2 separate regions of the Homo sapiens genome follow, and region 2 is linked to region 1. The links are contacts of gene promoters, found by promoter capture Hi-C in blood cells and fetal thymus (Javierre and others, 2016). All regions are on one chromosome and are shown on one strand. The core of a region is centred on a gene start or on the middle of the fragment in contact, and the rest is flanking DNA. Distances in the headings are between cores, read along the strand shown. Region 1 holds the start of IFI6 (interferon alpha inducible protein 6). Region 2 overlaps WDTC1 (WD and tetratricopeptide repeats 1).

The links. Contacts are between HindIII fragments. The CHiCAGO score rates a contact against its expected background, and 5 or more counts as called.
Region 2: a fragment that was not itself captured here is called in contact with the fragment with the promoter of IFI6 in region 1 in 14 of 17 cell types (naive CD8 T cells, non-activated CD4 T cells, naive B cells and 11 more); the score reaches 10.7 in naive CD8 T cells.

Annotation. Positions count from the first base shown.
Region 1 is chr1:27,670,072-27,676,191 of GRCh38, forward strand. It overlaps IFI6 (interferon alpha inducible protein 6), which reads right to left and starts at 2,121. Exons shown (of 5, transcript NM_002038.4): 1 at 2,052-2,121. It also overlaps the pseudogene RNU6-949P. RefSeq lists an enhancer at 2,153-2,492. The HindIII fragment of the contact is 12,379 bases long and covers 659-6,120 here.
Region 2 is chr1:27,306,603-27,312,450 of GRCh38, forward strand. WDTC1 (WD and tetratricopeptide repeats 1) reads left to right here. Exons shown (of 16, transcript NM_001276252.2): 16 at 1-2,034. Among named protein-coding and RNA genes, the nearest start is that of TMEM222, 13 kb to the right of the region's middle. RefSeq lists enhancers at 654-1,179, 1,180-1,705, 1,706-2,230. The HindIII fragment of the contact is 2,559 bases long and covers 1,100-3,658 here.

The DNA.
Region 1 (6,120 bases), core at 871-3,370:
TGGGTAGATAGTGGCCGATCCCACATGTTGAGGGTTCAGTCCCCCAGACTGCCAATCGAAAGCCCTAGGTTGTTTTACCTGTGTTTCTGACTGACTATAAACTGGGGTTCCCACAATTCCCTCCTGCAGTTTTACTAATTTGCTAGAGCAGCTCACAGAACTCAGGGAAACACTTTACTTACATATACTGGTTTCTTTCTTTAAAAAAAAAAAATTGATCTTGTTGTTGTTTTGAGACAGGGTCTCACTCTATTGCTCAGGCTGGAGTGCAGTGGCCCCATCTCAGCTCACTGAGACCTTCGCCTCCCAGGCTCAAGTGATCCTCCCACCTCAGCCTCCAGCATAGCTGGGACTACAGGTATGCACCACCACGCCCAACTAATTTTTTTTTTTTTTTTTGAGATGGGGTTTCACCATGTTGCCCAGGCTGATCTTGAACTCCTGAACTCACGCAATCTGCCTGCCTCAGCCTCCCAAAGTGCTGAGATTACAGGCATCAGCCACCATACCCAGCTACATTTACTGGTTCCTTATGGATATTACAAATGCTCCGGATGAAGAGATGCATAGGGCAAGGTATGGGAGAAAGGGCATGGAGTTTCCATTCCTCTCCAGAAGCACCACCCACTGGAGACCTCCTTGTATTCGGCTATCTGGAAGCTTGTCAAACCCTGTCCTTTTGTGTTTTTATGGAGGCTTCATTACATAGGCATGACTGATTAAATCACTGCCCATTGGTAATCAGCTTAACCTTCAGCCCCTCTCCCCTCCCCAGAGGAAATGCCAGCCATCAGTCAACTTATTAGACAGTTATCACTCAAAAGATATTTATCACTTTGAAGATTCCAAGGATTTTAGGAGTTGTATGCCAGGAACTGGGGGATGAAAAAATATATTTTACAATATCACAAGGGATAAAGGTCACACAGCAAATTGTGCAACATGGGTACACATTCAAGACAGTCAGAATTCATGAACCTATGCTCTTTCCTTTATACCACAAAACTGGAAAATGCATATGCCCTCAGACTCACCTCTAATATGATCTTTGTCAGATCAATGCTATTTTCTTAAGTTAAAAAGAAAAACAAGAAACTCCTCTCATGTATTGAGTACTTAGCACTTTATGGCACGCAGTCCACTTGTACCTATAACAACACCACGAAGTAGGTACCATTGTTATCAACCACATGTTATAGATAAGGAAACTGAAGCTCAGAGAGGTTAAGTAATATTCCCAAGGCTGCCTAGCCAGGTCATGGCAAAGTCAGGGTTTAAACCCACAATTGGCTAATACCCAAGCCCACATTTTTTTTTTTTTTTTTTTGAGATGGAGTCTTTCTCTGTCGCCCAGGCTGGAGTGCAGTGGCGCAATCTCATCTCACTGCAAGCTCCACCTCCCAGGTTCATGCCATTCTCCTGCCTGCCTCAGCCTCCCGAGTAGCTGAGACTACAGGCGCCCACCACCAAGCCCGGCTAATTTTTTTTGTATTTTTAGTAGAGACAGGGTTTCACTGTGTTAGCCAGGATGGTCTCGATCTCCTGACCTCGTGATCCGTGGGTCTCGGCCTCCCAAAGTGCTGGGATTACAGGCGTGAACCACCACGCCCGGCCACCAAGCCCACATTTTTAACAACCACTCCAGATGGCTTCATCTATCCTTAAAGATGAACTCACTGTCACATTGGATCCTATAATAAAGGGGATTCTAAAATCATCCAGTCCTTTGAGCAGCAAAGGCAACTTAACTTTCCTTTTACAGAGGAAGTAATTAAGGCTCCAAGAGGTGACAGTGTTAAGGCCACAGATCGCTGATATTGCACCTGTAAGCTGGGTCTCATGCCACTTGGGGTTTTGCATCCCATCTCCCTAAAAATCTCCAACCCATCCTCTTAGACAAGTCCCAGCCCAGAGCACTAAAAGGGACCCAGGAGTGCTGCCTCCCAGGAGAAGGGGCCTCCTGGCTCTCAGAACATGAGATTTACAGGCAGACAGGCAGCCTGGCAGAGGGTGGCAGCTTGATGCCCACACTTCATAGCTCCTGAGTTTACCTTGGAGGAGAGAAGAGAAGCAATCTTCAGCCCGGAGCCTGCTGATAGATGGGCACAGCAGCGAGTAAACGGTTCTCCGGCTGAAGGCTGGCTTTTTATCATCACTTGTGGATCCTCCCACGTCTCACCCTAGGCAGCCAATCCCTGTCGGAGTTTCTATTTCTGCACTCTGCAGTTTCATTTTCCCCTCTCTCCCAGCTCCTGCACTCTGCAGAGTTTCATTTTCCCCTCTCTCCCAGCTCCGCCCAGCGGGAACATTTGTGTGCTGCCTGCTGGCAGAAAAATGCACTTCAAGCTGAGGACTTTTGGAGCCGCTAAGGGTATTCAAAGCATGTCACACTATGATGAGAGCCACGGCCATACTGGGCTTAGTGAAGCCTGATCACCAGCTCCCCCTGGGGCACACAGGCCTTTCACCATTCAGTCCAATTAGTAAACAACACCTATCATTTATTGAGCACTTGCTGCATGCCAGGGTCTGTGCAAAGTGCTCTATTTACATGATCTTTTTCCAATCCCACAGTAGTCATGTGACATACCATATGCTGTTTATAAACCCCCAGAACTTTGGAAATTAAGTCACTTTGTTCCATTGTTCTCTCAGGCTGGCTGCTTCTGGGTCATGGGCATATGGTAAGACCAGTGAAGCCTGTGTTCATGTGGCCATCATGATAGATCTTGAGTTTCAAGATGGGTCCCCTGGCCCTAGGTAATGAACTGAGCATTCTTTAAAGCCTTTGGATGGTGATGCTTGAAGTGCTATGGGTCAGAAATGCAACCTCTATTTGGAGAACATAGAAATTCCAGTAAGGATGAATCATTGCCTTCTCCCAAGTGGAAGGGGTCTGAAATAATTGACCTGCCACCAGATGGCTGGCTATTCTCATTGAGAAATTTTGCCATATTGCTACCTGCTGCTGGCAGATTGGCTATATTTTGGCAATTGCCAGATCAGTTTTGGTGAGAGGGAGCCCAAGTTGTTGGACTCATTTCTAACCCCCATCCTTACCACCTTGGACACTCATAGGTCTATTGCAAGGCAATAGTGAGGCTAAGTTTAGAGGCTGGCTGACATCCACAGGATGGGACATCCTGGCCATTGGGCTGTAGAGCCTCCTCTGCAGCAGATGATCTCTGGTCAGCATTAACATGAGACATAGAGATCCAGGTGCTTTATGCCCATTCAGAGTTCATTCTTATGCCCCTAACCCACACCTGCTTATTCCCAATCTTCCAATCTTGTTCCATCCATGCCTTTGACCAACCAGCCAAGCCATTTGCCTCTTATTAGGAATTGGTGTATGTCTGTACTTCAGTCCATCTCTCTCTCTCTCTCTCTGCATACAGAGGGAACAACACGGTATACTGCTCCTAGTTCTGCCCCCTGGGAGGATTCACTATTATTCAGTGCCACCCCCAAATGGGGCTGTAATAGAGTGGTCCGTTTCCAGCTGATACCAAAATATTATACTGACTTATCTGTGAATTGAGTTTGACTCCTTTCCTCCATTATCTGTTGGTTGCTGGGAACACTCCATGAGGCCATATATATGGGTCAAAGAGAAAACCCAGAGAAACAGAGTTGGGCGCCACAGGACTCTGAGCTCCCTGTTTATTTAATTTACTCAAGCCTTTTAGACCCCTTTGCTCAGCCTTGAATATACCATTTCCATCATATATTTTTTGTTTTGTTTTGTTCTTTGTTTTTTGTTGTTTTTGTTTTTGTTTTTGAGACAGTCTTGCACTGTTCCCCAGGCTGGAGTGCAGTGGTGTGATCTTGGTTTACTGCAACCTCTGCCTCCTGGGTTCAAGCGATTCTCCTGCCTCAGCCTCCCAAGTAGCTGGGATTACAGGTGCGCGCCACCATGCCCGGCTAATGTTTTTTGTATTTTTAGTAGAGATGGGGTTTTGCCATGTTGGCCAGGCTGGTCTTGAACTCCTGACCTCAGGTGATCCACCCACCTCTACCTCCCAAAGTGCTGAGATTACAGGTGTGAGCTGCTGTGCCTGGCCTCTTTGTTGTTTTGTCGGTTGGTTGGTTGGTTTGTTAGAGACAGGGTCTCACTCTGTTGCCGGGGCTGGAGTGCAGTGGTACAATCATAGCTTACCGCAGCCTTGACTTCCTAGGCTCAAGAAATCCTCCCAACTCACCCTCCCAAGTATCTGGGACTATAGGCATGTGCCACCACACCCAGCTAATTTTTATATTTCTTTTAGAGATGGAGGTCTCACTACATTGCCCATGCTAGTCTCCAACTCCTGGCTCCAAGTGATCCTTCTGCCTCGAGGTCTTAAAGTGCTGGGATTACAGGCATGAGCCAATGCGCCCAGCTTCCATCACATATGGAACTGCTGCTCTACCTTTCTGATAATACCCAACTTAAGATATATAGCTACCTGGCACCCAGTGGTGAGATGTGTAGTCACTACTGGGGCCCAGTGACACATCAGGGCCTCTTTTCCCAAAGGGACCACAGTAAGCATAGCCTTACTGCAGAATCCTAAGAATCCTAACCGTAATTCTCCTATGTGGGCTTTCAGAAACTTTCTACAGAATCTTTTTTCTCCCTCCCTACAGAATTGTTATCCACCTTCACACAGATACATCCAGCAACATTGTAGGATCATATAATCAGAAGTGGCAGCATAGCTTGTTTTGTGGCCTGAACCTGCTACACAGTTAAGAGGAAAGAAAAAAACCAAAATGACCTAATGTGCTTTTTCTTTTCTTTTCTTTTCTTTTCTTTTGAGACAGAGTCTCGGTCTGTCGCCCAGGCTGGAGTGCAGTGGCGCGATCTTGGCTCACTGCAAGCTCCACCTCCCGGGTTCACGCCATTCTCCTGCCTCAGCCTCCCGAGTAGCGGGGACTACAGCCGCCCGTCCCCACGCCTGGCTAATTTTTTGTATTTTTAGTAGAGACAGGGTTTCACTGTGTTAGCCAGGATAGTCTCGATCTCTTGACCTCGCGATCCCCCCACCTCGGCCTCCCAAAGTGCTGGGATTATAGGCGGGAGCCACCGCGCCCGGCCTGCGTTTTCTATTCTCTCACTGAACACAACAATCGCCACAGACCAGATGTGTGGGTGGGTTTTTTTTCTCACGCCCCAAGCAGCAGACACCAGCTGGGTGTCCTCCGATTCAATTTTTTTTTTCTTTTTTTTTTTTTTTGAGATGGAGTTTCACTCTTGTCGCCCAGGCTGGAGTGCAGTGGTACTATCTCGGCTCACCGCAACCTCCGCCTCCCGGCTTCAAGCGATTCTCCTGACTCAGCCTCCCATGTAGCTGGGATTACAGGCATGCACCACCACACCCGGCTAATTTTGTATTTTTAGTAGAGACGGGGTTTCTCCATGTTGGTCAGGCTGGTCTCGAACTCCCAACCTCAGGTGATCTGCCTACCTCGGCCTCCCAGAGTGCTGGGATTATAGGCGTGAGCCACCTTGCCTGGCCTCAATTCTTTTTTTTTTTAATTATTAAAATAAAAATATGGAACGCTTCATGAATTTGTGTATCATCCTTGCACAGGGGCCATGCTAATCTTCCCTGTATCATTCCAATTTTAGTATATGTGCTGCTGAAGTGAGCACTTTTTTTCTTTTCTTCAGACAGGGTCTCACTGTGTCACCAAGGCTGGCTCAATCACGGCTCACTGCAGCCTCGACCTCCTGTGTTCAAGCGATCCTCCTGCCTCAGCCTCCCGAGTAGCTGGGACTATAGGGGTGCACCACCATGCCCAGGTAATTTTTGTATTTTTTGTAAAGATGGGGTTTTGCCATGTTGGCCAGGTGGTCTCGAACTCCTGGGCTCAAGGGATCTGCCCGCCTCAGCCTCTCAAAGTGCTGGGATTACAGGCATAGGCCACTGTGCCCAGCCTCCAATTCAATTCTGACACTGTCTACCTGGAGAGAGCATCGATCCTACAGGTTGAGGGACTCCTCAACTCTCACCCTCAAGACACAAATCAGGGCTTCTGGAACTTCCGACTGGTTACAAGTTGGGATTCCCATAATCCCTTCTTTGGGTTTAATTCATGTGCTAGAGAGGCTCCTAGAGCACAGGGAAACACAGT
Region 2 (5,848 bases), core at 1,129-3,628, 360 kb before region 1:
AGAGCAGGAGGGGACACCCCTCCATATGCCCCCCCCCATCTCCTGCTTTCATGTCCCTGGAGGGCTCTGGCCTGCCTCAAAACCCCTTCTGCCTCAGGTGGGGAGGAACAAGCTGAACTGTCTTCAGGGACTGTCCTGCCCTTTAGCTGGCAGCAGCAGGAGGAGTGGGATTCCCAATTGGTAAGGGCTCGCCTTGGCCTGTTGCCACTCTTGCTCCCTAGCCTGCAAGGCTAGCTCCCCTGTGGTCTTCAGGAAAGGTTTTGAAAAAGGATGGGTCCCACCCTCCCTCCAGAGCCACCAGTGTTAGAGCGGAGCCCAAAGGAAGGATGGGAGCCCTGGAGTGGGCAAGACCAGGCCACCTGCTGAGGTCGCTGTGGAGCACCCTCGCTCCTCTCCTGGCTACTAGCTCTGGCCCTGCACCTACTCTCACTGGCCACCTCTGGAGGCTCTGCCTTTCCCAAGGGCCCTGGCAGAGGGTGGGGCACTGCACCTTACCCCACCCATCCATGCCAGCACTTCTGCACTACGGCCATTCTCCTCTTGGGCGCTCCTCAGCCTCACTGTGACCTTTCTGCCAGAGCTCCCAGCCAGGCCTACTCTGCTGAGGTGGCGCTTCCTGCTAAGGGCCCTTCTCTGCCCTTTCTGCCCTCCTTCCCATCCCACATGCTGAGCCGCCACAAAGACCAAAGAAGTGATGGCTTTTCTCTGTCCCCTGCTGCTCTGAGGGGAGAGGGGTGGGTCTCCTGAGCCACTCAGATGGGAAAGTCCCTTACTCGGCCCCTCCCTCCCCAGCAGCCCCAAGCTTTACACTGGATGCAGCGATCAACCCACCACTCACCAGGCCTCTCCTCCCCTCTGCCCCCGGCTCTTAGCTCCAGCTGCTCCAGGTAGTTGGTTCATCCTTCCCCCTCTCTCCCTCCCTGCTTCCCCTTCAGTGCTTACTTGGCTCCAGCCCTCCAGCTGCAGCCCCTGGGGAAAAGCAGCCTCCCTTCTCCTCTCCCTCCACTCCCTCGCTCCCTCCCTCAGCCCCTGTCTCTGCCAGGTGCCTCCTCTCAGTCAGGCTTCAGAGCAGCCCTGGAGACAGGAGGGCCATGTTAAAAGCTTTTTCACAGTTTTAAGAAGACAAGTGGAGGGTGAGGATAGTGGTGGGGGGTCTGGCACCATCTCATTGCTTTAATCCCAGCAACACAGGTGGCAGCTTCTCCCCCTTCCTTCCCACCCCAGTCCCTCTTCCCACCCCTCTCTTCTAGCTTGGTAATGAAGTATATTTATTGGTGAAGGAAACAGCTGCTGCTGCTTCTCCTGCTGCTGGGACCTGCTCCCCTGTCTCTTCTCCGTGACCTTTCTCTAGCCAGGGAGAAGGGAGAGCAGGAGTATTGGGGCTGGGCCCTGGGGCCCAAGGACCAGCTGGGTCCCCTTTGCTTTCTTGTGTTCCAGCCACCTGCCATTTCCTCCCTGCCTCCCACCCTCCCTCCCTGCCCCCTGTCCTGCTTCCCACCCCCTGCCTGCCCAGCCTGGGCCCTGCAGTGTGGAGAGACACATAAGCCTTACTGTCCTCTGGGGGCAGGAGCCGAGCCTTTTTGTTGCTCCGCTCCCAGGAGAGTGAGGGTGACGCAATTGATTAAAACCATTTTGTTCTAGGTGTGGCTGGTGGCATTTGTGGGGTGCAGATGGGTCTTGGAACCAAAGTGAGGGCACCTGGTCCCTCACCTCTGTAGCTCTATGACTTAGTAACCACACCTCTACTGGACAGAATGAGGCCTGCCTTGAAGGGTCACCGTGAGCAGCGGCCACCCAGCCCAGCAGGGCTGAGTGCAGAGCCCAGCTCTCATGGCTGTGATTTGTAATCATCAGCTTTCACTCTCTGGCTGTTTTCTCATCAGTAAAATAAGGGACTTGGAATCTTAGTGGTTTTTCAAACCATTTTACATTGTGACCCAATATACACATGATTACTTGTAGATATGTGTGTGTGTATATATATATAAAAAAAATGAACAAAAGTTTTACACAATAATATTTACCCTTGCTACATGCAGTGTACTCTGCTTACCCTTCTGTTTTATTAGGGAAAAAAATATGGCTATAACCCACTAAATTGATTTCACATATGCAAGTTTTTGAAGTGCCCTGGATTAGATAATCTCTTAGACTATAGGTTCCTGAACTTTCTTAGCTCACAGCACCATTACCATCTCAGTAATTTTTTCATGGAGCCTCTAAGCCAAAAGAAATAACAGTTCAATTTATTAAGTAGTTAAGTCCAAATCACTTAAAAAGTATTTATGTCCTAACAAGTTAGTTGCCATTTAAAAAATAATACACCTGAATTGGAAGAAACAATATTTATTTCATTCTTTTTTTTTTTTTTTTTTTTTGAGACGGAGTCTTGCTCTGTTGCCCAGGCTGGAGTGCAGTGGCATGATCTCAGCTCACTGCAACCACCGCCTCCCGGGTTCAAGTGATTCTCCTACCTCAGCCTCCCAAGTAGCTGGGATTACAGGCATGTGCCACCATGCCCAGCTATTTTTTTTTTTTTGCATTTTTATTTATTTTTTATTTTTTATTTTTTTTTTGAGACAGTTTCGTTTTTGTCGCCCAGGCTGGAGTGCAATTGTGCAATTGCGGCTCACTGCAACCTCCGCCTCCTGGGTTCAAGCGATTCTCCTGCCTCAGCCTCCCAAGTAGCTGGGATTACAGGTGCCCGCCACCACACCCAGCTAATTTTTTGTATTTTTAGCAGAGATGGGGTTTCACCACCTTGGCCAGGCTGGTCTCAAACTCCTGACCTCAGGTGATCTGCCCGCCTCAACCTCCCAAAGTGCTGGGATTACAGGTGTGAGCCACCGCGCCCAGCCTTCATTCTTAAACAACTGCAATTACTAATGGGATCTATGCTGCCCATTGGGCACTGAACAACTTGTTAAATTTTCTAATCAAAGCAAACACTGCTGCCTTCATTTCCTGTCCCACATTGATTTTCATTTGCTTTTTATCACAGCAACCACTAAAGACCCAGCTTCTTTTTTTTTTTTTTTTTTTTTTTTGAGGCGGAGTCTTGCTCTGTTGCCCAGGCTGGAGTGCAGTGGTGCGATTTCGGCTCACCGCAAGCTCCACCTTCTGAGTTCATGCCATTCTCCTGCCTCAGCCTCCTGAGTAGCTGGGACTACAGGCAGCTGCCACCAGACCTGGCTTATTTTTTATGTTTTTAGTAGAGATGGGGTTTCACCACGTTAGCCAAGATGGTCTCGCTCTCCTGACCTTGTGGTCCACCCGCCTCGGCCTCCCAAAGTGCTGGGATTACAGGCATGAGCCACTGCGCCCGGCCAAGACCCAGCTTCTTAAAGATGACATCATCAAAAGGATTGTGGCATAATGTAATAATGGAACTGTGAACTACCTTGAGCTAATAGTTCTCTCATTAGCCAAAGATGTTGAATATCTTTCAAAATATCCTACTTTGCCCCCTGTGAATTTGCTGTGGGTGCCCTCAGGCACCTTGATGCACAGTTGGGGAACTATGGTTTAGTCTGTGGGAATAGCAGTTCCACTACTGAAACTACTGAGAGGTCCTGCCGGAAACACAATAGGTGGTATTATAAAACAGATACTGTGGGCTGGTATCATTCCTCTGTGTACCCAAATTAACGTCTGCAGAAGCTTCTTGAAGGCATTTCCAGACCAGACAAAGGAAGGACAATGTTCCAGACCAGGGAGTAGTGCAGAGTCTCAGGTTCCTTCATGAACCCTGAGTGACTCCATCTGGCTGGATTGTAGAGGGTAGACTGGAGGAGCAGTCAAACTGAAGGACTTCCTATGGCTGGTGAGAGACCACAGACTCAATCCTGTAGGCAAGGGAGGCATTGGAAGACTTCACGAGGGTCTCCATTTCATTTGGAGTTGGTACTCCATTTTTTAAAAAATTAATAGCCTTTACTTTCTAGAGCAGTTTTAGGCTTACAGAAAATTGAGCAGATAGTATAATGAGTTTCATATAACCCTCTTTCCCCAGCTCAATTTTCCCAATTATTAACATCTTGCATTAGTGTGTTGTTGTAATTAATGAACCAATATTGATACATTATGATAACTGAAGTCCATAGTTTACATTACGGTTCACTCTTTGTGTTGCAAAGTTCTATGGGTTTTGACAAATGCATGTCTCGTATCCACCATTACATTGTCATACAGAATAGTTTCACTGTTCTAAAAGCACCTTGTCCTCCACGTATTCAGCCCTCATTAGCATCCCCCCAAAAAAGTACTTAGGAATAAATCTAACAACATATGTACAAGGTTTGTATGAGCAAAACTACAAAACTGATAAAAGAAACCAAGGAAGATCAAGTAAATGGAGAGATGGTCCATGTTCACGGATAGGAAAACTCAATATTAGGATGTCAGTTCTTTCCAACTTGATCTATAGCTTCAATGTGATCCTGGTCATAGTCCCAGCAAGTTATTTTGTGAGTATCACCAACTGATCCTAAAGTTTACATGAAAATGTAGCAGACCCAGAATAGTTCCACTGTTCCACCTCCTTCTGCCTCTCCTGGTGCCGTTTGTGTGCTCATTCATTCTGTGCAGACCTGGTGCCTCATTGGTGAAGTAGCAGCTGAGGAGACTCCAGCACTCGTGTGGCTGATGAAAAGCCCAAGGAAGGAGTCAAGACTGAGAATAACAATCTTATTAATTTGAAGGTAATGGGGCAGGATTGTTCCATGGTGCAGTTTAAAATTAAAAGTCATATACCGGCCGGGTATGGTGGCTCACACCTGTAATCCCAGCACTTTGGGAGGCCAAGGTGGGTGGATCACCTGAGGTCTGGAGTTTGAGACCAGCCTGACCAATATGGTGAAACCCCGTCTCTACTAAAAATACAAAAAAATAGCTGGACATGGTGGTATGTGCCTGTAGTCTCAGCTACTTGGGAAGCTGAGGCAGGAGAATTGCTTGAACCCGGGAGGCGGAGGTTGCAGTGAGCCGAGATCGCGCCACTGCCCTCCAGCCTGGGTGACAGAACGAGATGCCATCTCATAAAAGAAAAAAAAAGAGTCATATACCACTTAGTAGAGTAATGAAAGTCTATTGTGAATGACAGAGTTTGTCAGTGAGGCAGATCAGATTCTAATTTGACAGGCAACCAGTCAATGAAACAGACACACCTGCACAGTTGGAAATGGAGGATGAAGATACAATTGATGTGTTTCAGCAACAGACAAGAAGTGTCTACTGAAAAAGGAACCTGCTTCTTTACTCTAGAACTTTGTTCTTATAGACCAAGATTACATTCTCAATTAGAAAACTGCAATTTGGTTCCACCACATCATGACTATTACTATAGTATAGTTTTCTCTATTCTTTTATTTTTCCCTTACCCATTCCCTTATTGTACATAAAATAATGGGTGTATGTTCACAAGCATTTTGCTGTTTTAAATATTAAATGGCCAATGACATCCACTTGATGTCAATCAAAACATATCTGTGGGGAAAAATACCGATTCTTGAAAATTACCTCCCTTTCTCCATCAGTGGCATGCTCATTCAACTCTTATCTTACATTGCAATGTTATTTTGTTCTCACTATTTTAACAAAAAAAAAAAATCCTTGCATACCTTATTCAATTGGAGAATTTTAATGTTTTTCATTTATCATTGTAAAACCAAGGACAATTTTATAACTTTTCGTGTATATAGCTCTTACATGTAGGGCAATCTGTCTTTAACTAGAGATAAATTACTCTTAAAAAAAAATCCTAAATAGTTTTCCTTTAAAGTCAAGCATCTTGTTGTTTAAATAAACTTCTTGTTAAAAATGGAGAAAAAGAAGAAAGACCCAGAATAAC